2 separate regions of the Homo sapiens genome follow, and region 2 is linked to region 1. The links are contacts of gene promoters, found by promoter capture Hi-C in human tissues and cell types (Jung and others, 2019). All regions are on one chromosome and are shown on one strand. Each heading gives the region's core, a stretch centred on a gene start or on the middle of the fragment in contact. The rest is flanking DNA. Distances are from core to core; before and after follow the strand shown. Region 1 holds the start of SEMG2 (semenogelin 2). Region 2 has its middle 16 kb from the start of SPINT4.

Evidence for each region. The method cuts DNA at HindIII sites, captures the fragments that hold promoters and counts their contacts. A contact is called where the count stands out against the background at its distance.
Region 2: a fragment that was not itself captured here is called in contact with the fragment with the promoter of SEMG2 in region 1 in 1 of the 25 tissues and cell types used here (mesenchymal stem cells).

The regions. Positions count from the first base shown.
Region 1 is chr20:45,218,632-45,223,130 of GRCh38, reverse strand. It overlaps SEMG2 (semenogelin 2), which reads right to left and starts at 1,758. Exons shown (of 3, transcript NM_003008.3): 1 at 1,666-1,758; 2 at 1-1,422. The coding sequence starts at 1,741. The HindIII fragment of the contact is 14,800 bases long and covers 1-4,499 here.
Region 2 is chr20:45,736,491-45,740,989 of GRCh38, reverse strand. No RefSeq gene overlaps it. Among named protein-coding and RNA genes, the nearest start is that of SPINT4, 16 kb to the right of the region's middle. The HindIII fragment of the contact is 5,137 bases long and covers 1-4,499 here.

The DNA.
Region 1 (4,499 bases), core at 509-3,008:
TTTCAATTTGGAAAGAAATACTGCTTTGGGATACATCTTTCTGCGTGCTCTTTCCTCCATAGTTGAGTCGTCTTTCTTCTGTACTTGAAGATTGGTATGACATTTTATTTTCCTTATGGCCATGCTCTTGATCTTGACTAGGAATTGTTACCTGGTTTTGAGACTTGCCATGTATTTTCTCTTCAGTTTGGATAGAAATACTGCCTTTGGATACACCTTTCTGTACATCCTTTTCTCCACTGTTGAGACGTCTTTCTTCTGTACTCGAAGATTGGTATGATATTTTATTTTCCTTATGGCCATACTCTTGAGCTTGACTAGGAATTCTTACCTGGTTTTGAGACTTGCCATGTATTTGCTCTTCAGTTTGGATCGAAATACTGCCTTTGGATACACCTTTCTGGATGCCCTTTTCTCCACAGTTGAGATGTCTTTCTTCTGTACTTGAAGATTGGTATGATATTTTATTTTCCTTATGGCCATGCTCTTGATCTTGACTATGAATTGTTACCTGGTTTTGAGACTTGCCATGTATTTTCTCTTCAGTTTGGATAGAAATGCTGCCTTTGGATACATCTTTCTGTACACTCTTTTCTCCATGGTGAAGTTGTCTTTCTTCTGTACGTGAAGACGGGTATGATATTTTATGTGCCTTCCGGCCATGCTCTTGATCTTGACTGAGATTTTTTGTCTGGTGTTGATTCTTGTTATATACTAGGAGCTCATCTTGGGTAGTAAAAATGTCTTTGGGTCCATGTTGGAGTCTGTCTTGATGTGCAGGATGGAGTGAAGTTTGTAGTTTACTTGAATGTTCCTCTCTCACGTCAACCACATTTTGGTAATGCCCTTTATTTTGATGAGAATTTTTAGTCTCACGTTGTTGTTTGTTAACTACTAGTTCTTCAGTTTGGAGAACATAACTGCTTTGGGATCCACCTTGTGTTCTACCTTTTTGTGCACCAGAGGCTGAAGCTTGTTCTTTACTTAGTCCATGAACCCATAGCCTTTTTTCTGTGTTTGAACATTGACTGGATAATCCCTTTCCAGATGGGCTATTCCCCTGATCTTGAGAAGGATTTTGTGTCCCATGATGAGCTTGGCCTCCTTTATGATGTATAACTATCATGTGAAAATGACCTTTTGATTTATCATGGTCTCTGCCTTCTTGTTTATAATTGAGCAGTTGTTGACTTCCACCTAGGTGTTGTTTTGATTTTGTCGCCTTATGTAGGGCATTCAAATCATATTGCTGACTTTTTCGGGTCCAGTCATGATCATTGATGTCTACATGATATGTGTGTTGAATAGAAAAACTGCCTTTGGATTTAGTATGTTGTTGGTCTTTTTGTCCAAAATAGTGCTGGCCCTTTTGTCCATGTGGAAATTGGGAAGATCCGCTTGGCAATTGGCCTTTTGATCCACCTGGTAATTGATAATAGAAATGTATGCATTCATTATCTCCAAAGCTCTCTTGCAACTCTTACCTCCCACCTTTTCCCAACAAATTTCTGATATTTCCAAAAGCCTACAGCGTTGGGTGGAGAAAAATCAATTCTCATCAAGGAGAAGAATCTGTGCCTGAACAGGTTACTGTTTGCACCCTGAATATCCTTAGAGGCCATTTTTTTAAAGTAGCTTTCCCCAAGGCTTACCCTCTCCACTCACCTTTTTGTCCCATCACAGCTGCTTGCTTCTCCAAGATAAGGAGCAGGGAAAGGACAAAGAGGATGATGGACTTCATCTTGCTTGAAAAATCTTGTCTGAGAACTGAGCGGATCTCTTCATTTATATGTTCCTTGAGTGGGTGTGCTATGGGTGGAGCTGAAATGTCAAAAGGCACTGCCCTTTCATAGCTTATTAGTAAATGCCAGCTTCCTCACCCCTGCTCAGTGGGGGATAATGTCAAAGTCCCCAGGGACTTAGCATGGGGACATAATATCAAAGGCAATTTTTTTTACTTTCAGAATCCCCAGCAAAATTTTATCGGTCTTTGTATATCATCATGCCAGATCGCTTGCATTATACAGAAGAAATTCAGTCCGGAGTAGGAAGGAGACTAGCTTCAGGTTACAAAAGTAATTGGTGGCTGACAATGCCTTCATACTCTAAATGCGAGTTTCCTTTCTGATCCAATAACTTAAATACTAAATTTTAGGTATAACTCTATACTTTGTCTTGTTTTAAAGTAATCCTGAGACACATTCTGTTTTACTCGAGAAGGAGCAGTCATAGAAGTAGAATGATACAGAAGAGAAAGAAACTTCATGGAAGCCAAAGAAAAAAATTTCAACAAATAAATGAGGCATACCAATGTCAAATGTATCTGTGAAGTTCATCACAAAAAAGACTAACATGTGTCAAAAACTTTCTGATGTTACTCACTGCTAGTAATGTTAACGAGAGATGAATACAGTTGTGTTGGGTTGTCAGTTGAAGGATGGAGTCCAGCTGAAACCATCTCAAGAAGTCTGATTTCATGGTGGAATGAGAGGTGAGGCTGTATCTGGAGGGTGAGGTAAGCTCCAGAGATTTTTTGAAAGGATGAGAAAAATTTAACATGTTTTTATGATGATAGGAACAACTGTTGGAAAAAGAAGTAAGAATGTTGGTTTCCAAATTGGATTATTTGATGATATTTACCTAAACAAAAATGTATTTACCAAAATACATTTTTTAAATAAAAGCATTTCATACTTCTGTAATAAACTGCTGAACCCTCCAACAGGCTGTGAGGAATATTTGCCAACTTCAGTTCATTAAATAATGTATTGAGAGTGGACCTAAAGCTAAAATTTTTACCTTGGGTGGAAGCATAGGGTTTTTTTGCTTTTGTTTTGTTTTGTTGTGTTGTGTTGTTTTGTTTTGTTTTTTTGCAATTGTGAAAACTTCTTGAAAAATCCAAGGAAGGTTTTTTGTTTGTTTGTTTGTTTGTTTTGTTTTTTTTGTTTGTTTGTTTTTGAGACAGAGTCTCGCTCTGTCGCCCAGGCTGGAGTGCAGTGGCACCATCTCGGCTCACTGCAAGCTGTGCCTCCCAGGTTCATGCCATTCTCCTGCCTCAGCTTCCCAAGTAGCTGGGACTACAGGTGCCTGCCACCACGCCCGGCTAATTTTTTGTATTTTTAGTAGAGACGGGGTTTCACCGTGTTAGCCAGGATGGTCTCAATCTCCTGACCTCGTGATCCGCCCGCCTCAGCCTCCCAAACTGCTGGGATTACAGGCATGAGCCACTGCACCCGGCCAGTTTCTTTACTTTGACTGAAAAAGTCCTTGTTATGAGAAGACAACAGGAGAAGCAGCAACATTTGAACAGTGACCCTGTATGCATTCAGAACACTGTGGAGGGTAGTTCTGGAGAAAGGACGGCTTGGAAACTTATTTTCTATTATTCTCTCTTAAAATCCTAACCTTCCTGTAAGCAATGCTATATGGAAGGGGAGAGGGGAAAGGCCAACCATAGGAAAAAATGCTACTTATGCCATCAAACTTGAAGCATGTGAGCTATGTGGTTTCTCTATGAGCCATTCTGAGATCTTACCAGTTTTATCTGTTTGCCCTAAGGGCAGTAAGTATTTCCTTATGGCAGGGACCCCAAAAGAAAAGAGTAAAGTTTTCCTGAACACAAATTTATTGCTGTACCTGCTAATCACTATAATCTTCCTTACACTTCCCTTAAGGAAATACCAGGAACTGTTGTGTTCCAAGATTACCGGAACAAACAAGAGTCTGAAATATTAATCTTACTTATGGATCAAGAACAAAACTTCCAACTAATCTAGTGTCCAAAAGATACAGATAAAACAAAGGTGCACAAGATTTGCAAAAACAAAGCAGGAAAATGCAAACTAGGCACAACATGTGATTATGATACTCATATCATGATTGGATTTAATGAAATTTGAAAAAAAAGCATTTCAAAATTAAAAATAAATCTATTGATAAAGATGAAAGCAGAAATCGGTAATTTGGAAAGCATAAACATGGTATAGTGCTGCATACATCTTAGATGTGGTATCATGATTGGGAAAATATCAAATGATAAAAAATAAACAAGGAAAAAATAGTAGAATATTTTAAAGTTCACCAAGTAGGAGACAGGTCACTGAGCTTGACACAGTTTATATGCCCCTGTGGCAGCACAGTGGCTATGTGTCCACACTGAGTACCTGAGAAATAGCCCTGTAACACTCTCTCCCTCCAGAGACACATCCATGGCCTGCTCAGTGGCCCTATACTCCCAATAAGAGCTTGAGAAACAGACTCACAAGCTCCCCTGCTGGGCTTGACACCACGCTGGCCCAGCTGCCGAGAGCCCATTTCCCAAACCTGAGAAACAGCCCATGGGCCACCCCTGGTGGGCATACCCAAGCCAGCCAAGTAGTTATGTGGTCATGTCCCAGGTCTGAGAAACAGTCCTACAGATTGCCTCTGGTGGTCACACATGAAGGACAACCAAGAAGCTCCATGCCTACACCCTAGGCCTACAGAATATCTTCTTGGGC
Region 2 (4,499 bases), core at 1,020-3,519, 520 kb before region 1:
TCTCCCCCGCTCAGGTGATTCTCCCACCTCAGCCTTCTGAGTAGCTGGGATTACAAGCATGTGCCACCATGCCTGGATAATTTTGTATTTTTAGTAGGGATGGATTTCACTATGTTGCTCAGGCTGGTCTCAAACTCCTGGACTCAAGCAATCTGCTCGCCTCAGCCTCCCAGAGTGCTGGGATTACAGGCATAAGCCACCGTGCCTGACCTAGAATTTTGTAATCATCCCATTAGATTTGCTTTTTTCATCCACCATATCTTGTTAATATCAGCTTTGATGGGCTTGTCCAATACCTTATGGTCATCTTAGCAAATAATACTATATTGTTCCTGCCTGTTTTAGGAACTTACTTCCCACTACAAGAAGTAAGAAAATATATTAGTGCTTATGTATCTACTTACCTAGTGTATTACCATCTCTAGAGGCATATTGTCTTATAAAGTTGAAGATGCAACTATGTTTCAAGGCTGGGGATTTCCCTTGCTGTATGCAGTATAAGCCCTGAGCTTATGTTCTTTGTAGCATCGTCAAAACACATAGGTTTGGGGACCAAGTTGGTGTAGGTAGTATTTAAGATTCTACTTTGTAATAGTTTTGCTTCCCATTCTTATGATTATGCACTCTACTGGTTTGATTGTTTTTGTGTCTAAATGGGGGAATACTTTCATCAAGCAATTAAAAAATGGACCTGTTCAATTCAGAGTTGACATTTATATCTGGCCACTTCAGTCTCTTCATAAGAATAAAAAAATTGACAAAAGATGGGTATTACAGTTTGCCTGCAATTTTTGAAACTGTGAAGATAAAATAGGGTTAATTTTCACCTTAGCTACCTTGAAAAATATATACATATAATTGTACCCCATCTCAGTTGTAAAATATAATGGGAGCCATTAAAGTCCAAAAGATGGGAAAATGTAAAGCCTGCCCAGGCAGTTCTCTCAAAAGCTAATATCACACAGAAATGAAGTTTTACATAAAGAACACAGCTTATTTGTGGTATTGGCTAAACACAAAAGTATGAAATGCATAATAGAGGAGGATTGTTAACGCAAGTCAGCTATTACGGGCTTATAATGAACAGCACAAATAAAGCTACCTGTATTTTCCTAATCATTGTGTTGTAGCATTAATATTTTTCAAGCATTTATTTTTTATTTCTTTTATTGTTTTATATAGGGTATGTTGGTTTATGATATAATTAACCACTTTTTTCACAGTATTTATTGGTAATATACAGATAGAGCTCATTTAGAGATTTTATACTTGTAGCCAGTTGAAGGAGTCGGAGCTGACTTTCGATTGTCTCCCTTTAAGGAGTAGGTAAGTACTTTTTGTGATGTTAGACCAAGGCATTAAACATATTTATGAACAGAAAGGAGAGAGTATATGCATGGAATAGTCAAGGGTTGGGAGGTAGTGAACAGCAGTTGTTTAGGTCTGCTCATCAGTATATTTCACATCTAATAATAGCATTCCAACTTTTCCTTGTAGAATTGTCCTTCCCATTCATAGTGCCCTAAGTTGCCTAAACATATAAACTTGAGAAAATTAAGGATGGGACAGTTGGGGGCTGTGATCATTATTGTAAATCTCGGGGAACTGAGGCATTTTCTACACTGGGATTTGTTTATATTGAGCCATTTTTTGGGCTTTTTAAAAAAAATTCATTTTCGACAAGTTATAGTTGTGTGTGTATCTATATATATATATGCAACTATAACTTGTATATGTTACATATATAGTTTTGTAAACCATATATATAACTATATATACAGTTTTGTAAACCATATATATAACTATATATACAGTTTTGTAAACCATATATATAACTATATATAGTTTTGTAAACCATATATATAACTATATATACAATTTTGTAAACTATATATAACTATATATACAGTTTTGTAAACTATATATAACTATATATACAGTTTTGTAAACTATATATATAACTATATATAGTTTTGTAAACTATAACTATATATATAACTATATATAGTTTTGTAAACTATAACTATATATAACTATATATAGTTTTGTAAACTATAACTATATATATAACTATATATAGTTTTGTAAACTATAACTATATATAACTATATATATAGTTTTGTAAACTATAACTATATATAGGTTTTTTTTTGACTTGGGGTCTTGCTCTGTCACCCAGGCTGGAGTGCAGTGGCATGATCTTGGCTCACACTAGCCTCGATCTCCTGGGCTCAAGCAATCCTCCCCCCTCAGCCTCCTGAGTAGCTGGAATTACAGGTGGGCACCACCACACCCGACTAATTTTGTGTTTTTTTTTTTTTTTTTTTTTTGTAGAGACAATGTCTCACTATGTTGCCCAGGCTGGTCTTGAACTCCTGGGCTCAAGCAATCCTCCTGCCTCAGTCTTCCAAAGTGCTGGGGTTATGGGCAGGAGCCACTGTGTCGAGCTTGTTGTATATATTTATGGGGTACAAAGTGATGTTATAATTTATGATTTGATTGGAATAATCAAATCAACCAAATTAACATATTCATAATCTCAAATACTTATTTTTTTGTGGTGAGAACATTTGAAATCTACTCTTAGTGATTTTGAAGTGCACAATATACTATTATTAACTATATTCACCACATTGTGTTAATAGATCTTGAAAAAATCTTATCCTTCTAGTCTGAGGCTTTGTACCCTTTACAATCATCTCCCCATTTCCCCCAACACTCCAGCCTCTGGTAACCACCATTCTAATTCTGCTTCTATGAGTTTGATTGTTTTAGATTCTACATGTAAGTGAGAACATATGGTATTTGTCTTTCTGTGTAGACTTATTTTAATTTAGGATAATGTTCTTCAGTTTCACCCATGTTGTCACAACTGACTGAATTTCTTTCTTTTTTTTTTTTTCTCTGGAGTGTCTGGTTTATTGAAAATGCTGATCATGGAGCAGGAACCAAATTGTTGGGAACTGTGGGGCTGAACAGGAGAGGGATATCCAGGTATCAGAAGGTAAAAGGAGGTCAGCTGAGCAGCCAGGGCAGCATTAGGACCAGGTTGAGCAGGATGAATTTCTTTTTAAGGGCTGAATAGTATTCCATTGTACATAACTAAACACACATTTTCTTTATCCATTCATTTGTTGATGGAAAGTTAGGCTGATTCCACAACTTGGCTATTGTGAATAGTCGATGCAATGAACATAGGAGTGCAGACATCTCTTCAACATACTGGTTTCAATCTTTTGAGTAAATACCCAGAAGTGGGATTGCTGGGTCATAGGTTAATTCTATTCTAATTTTTTGAGGTGCCTCTATAATGTTGTCCATAATGTCTGTACTAATTTACATTCCTGTTAACAGTGTACAAGGGTTTCCTTTTCTCCGCATCCTGCCAACACTTGATATTTTTCATTTTTTTGACAATGGCCATTCTGACAGGTGTGAGATTGTGTCCGGAATTGGTGGGTTCTTGGTCTCACTGACTTTAAGAATGAAGCCGCAGACCCTCGCGGTGACTGTTACAGTTCTTTTTTTTTGAGACAGAGTCTCGCTCTGTCACCCAGGATGGAGTACAGTGGCGCGATCTCGGCTCACTGCCACCTCTGCCTTCTGGGTTCAAGCGATTCTCCTGTCTCAGCCTCCCGAGTAGCTGGGACTACAGGTGTGTGCCACCACGCCTAGCTAATTTTTTTCTATTTTTAGTAGAGATGGGGTTCCACTGTGTTAGCCAGGATGTTCTTGATCTCCTGACCTCTTGATCCACCCACGTTGGCCTCCCAAAGTGCTGGGATTACAGGCATGAGCCACAACGCCTGGCCTGACTGTCACAGTTCTTAAAGGCGGCATGTCCAGAGTTCGTTCCTTCTGATGTTTGGATGTGTTTGGAGTTTCTTCCTTCTGGTGGGTTTGTGGTCTCGCTGGCTTAGGAGTGAAGCTGCAGACCTTTGTGGTGAGGGTTACAGCTCTTAAGGCGGCATGTCTGGAGTTGTTCATTCCTCCCGGTAGGTTCGTGGTCTCGATGGCATCAGGAGTGAATCTATAGACCTTTGTGGTGAGTGTTACAGCTCATAAAGGCAGTGTGGACCAAACAGTGAGCAGTAGCAAGATTTATTGCAAAGAGTGAAAGAACAAAGCTTCCACAGTGTGGAAGGGGACCTGAGCCGGTTGCCACTGCTGGCTCCAGCAGCCTGCTTTTATTCTCTTATCTGGCCCCACCCACATCCTGCTGATTGGTCCATTTTACAGAGAGCCGATTGGTCTGTTTTAAACAGAGCTGATTGGTCCATTTTGACAGGGTGCTGATTGGTGTATTTACAATCCCTGAGCTAGACACAAAAGTTCTCCATGTCCCCACTAGATTAGCTAGATACAGAGTGCTGATTGGTGTATTTACAAACTCTGAGCTAGACACACAGTGCTGATTGGTGCATTTACAAACCTTGAGCTAGATACAGAGTGCTGATTGGTGTATTCACAATCCCTTAGCTAGACATAAAGGTTATCCA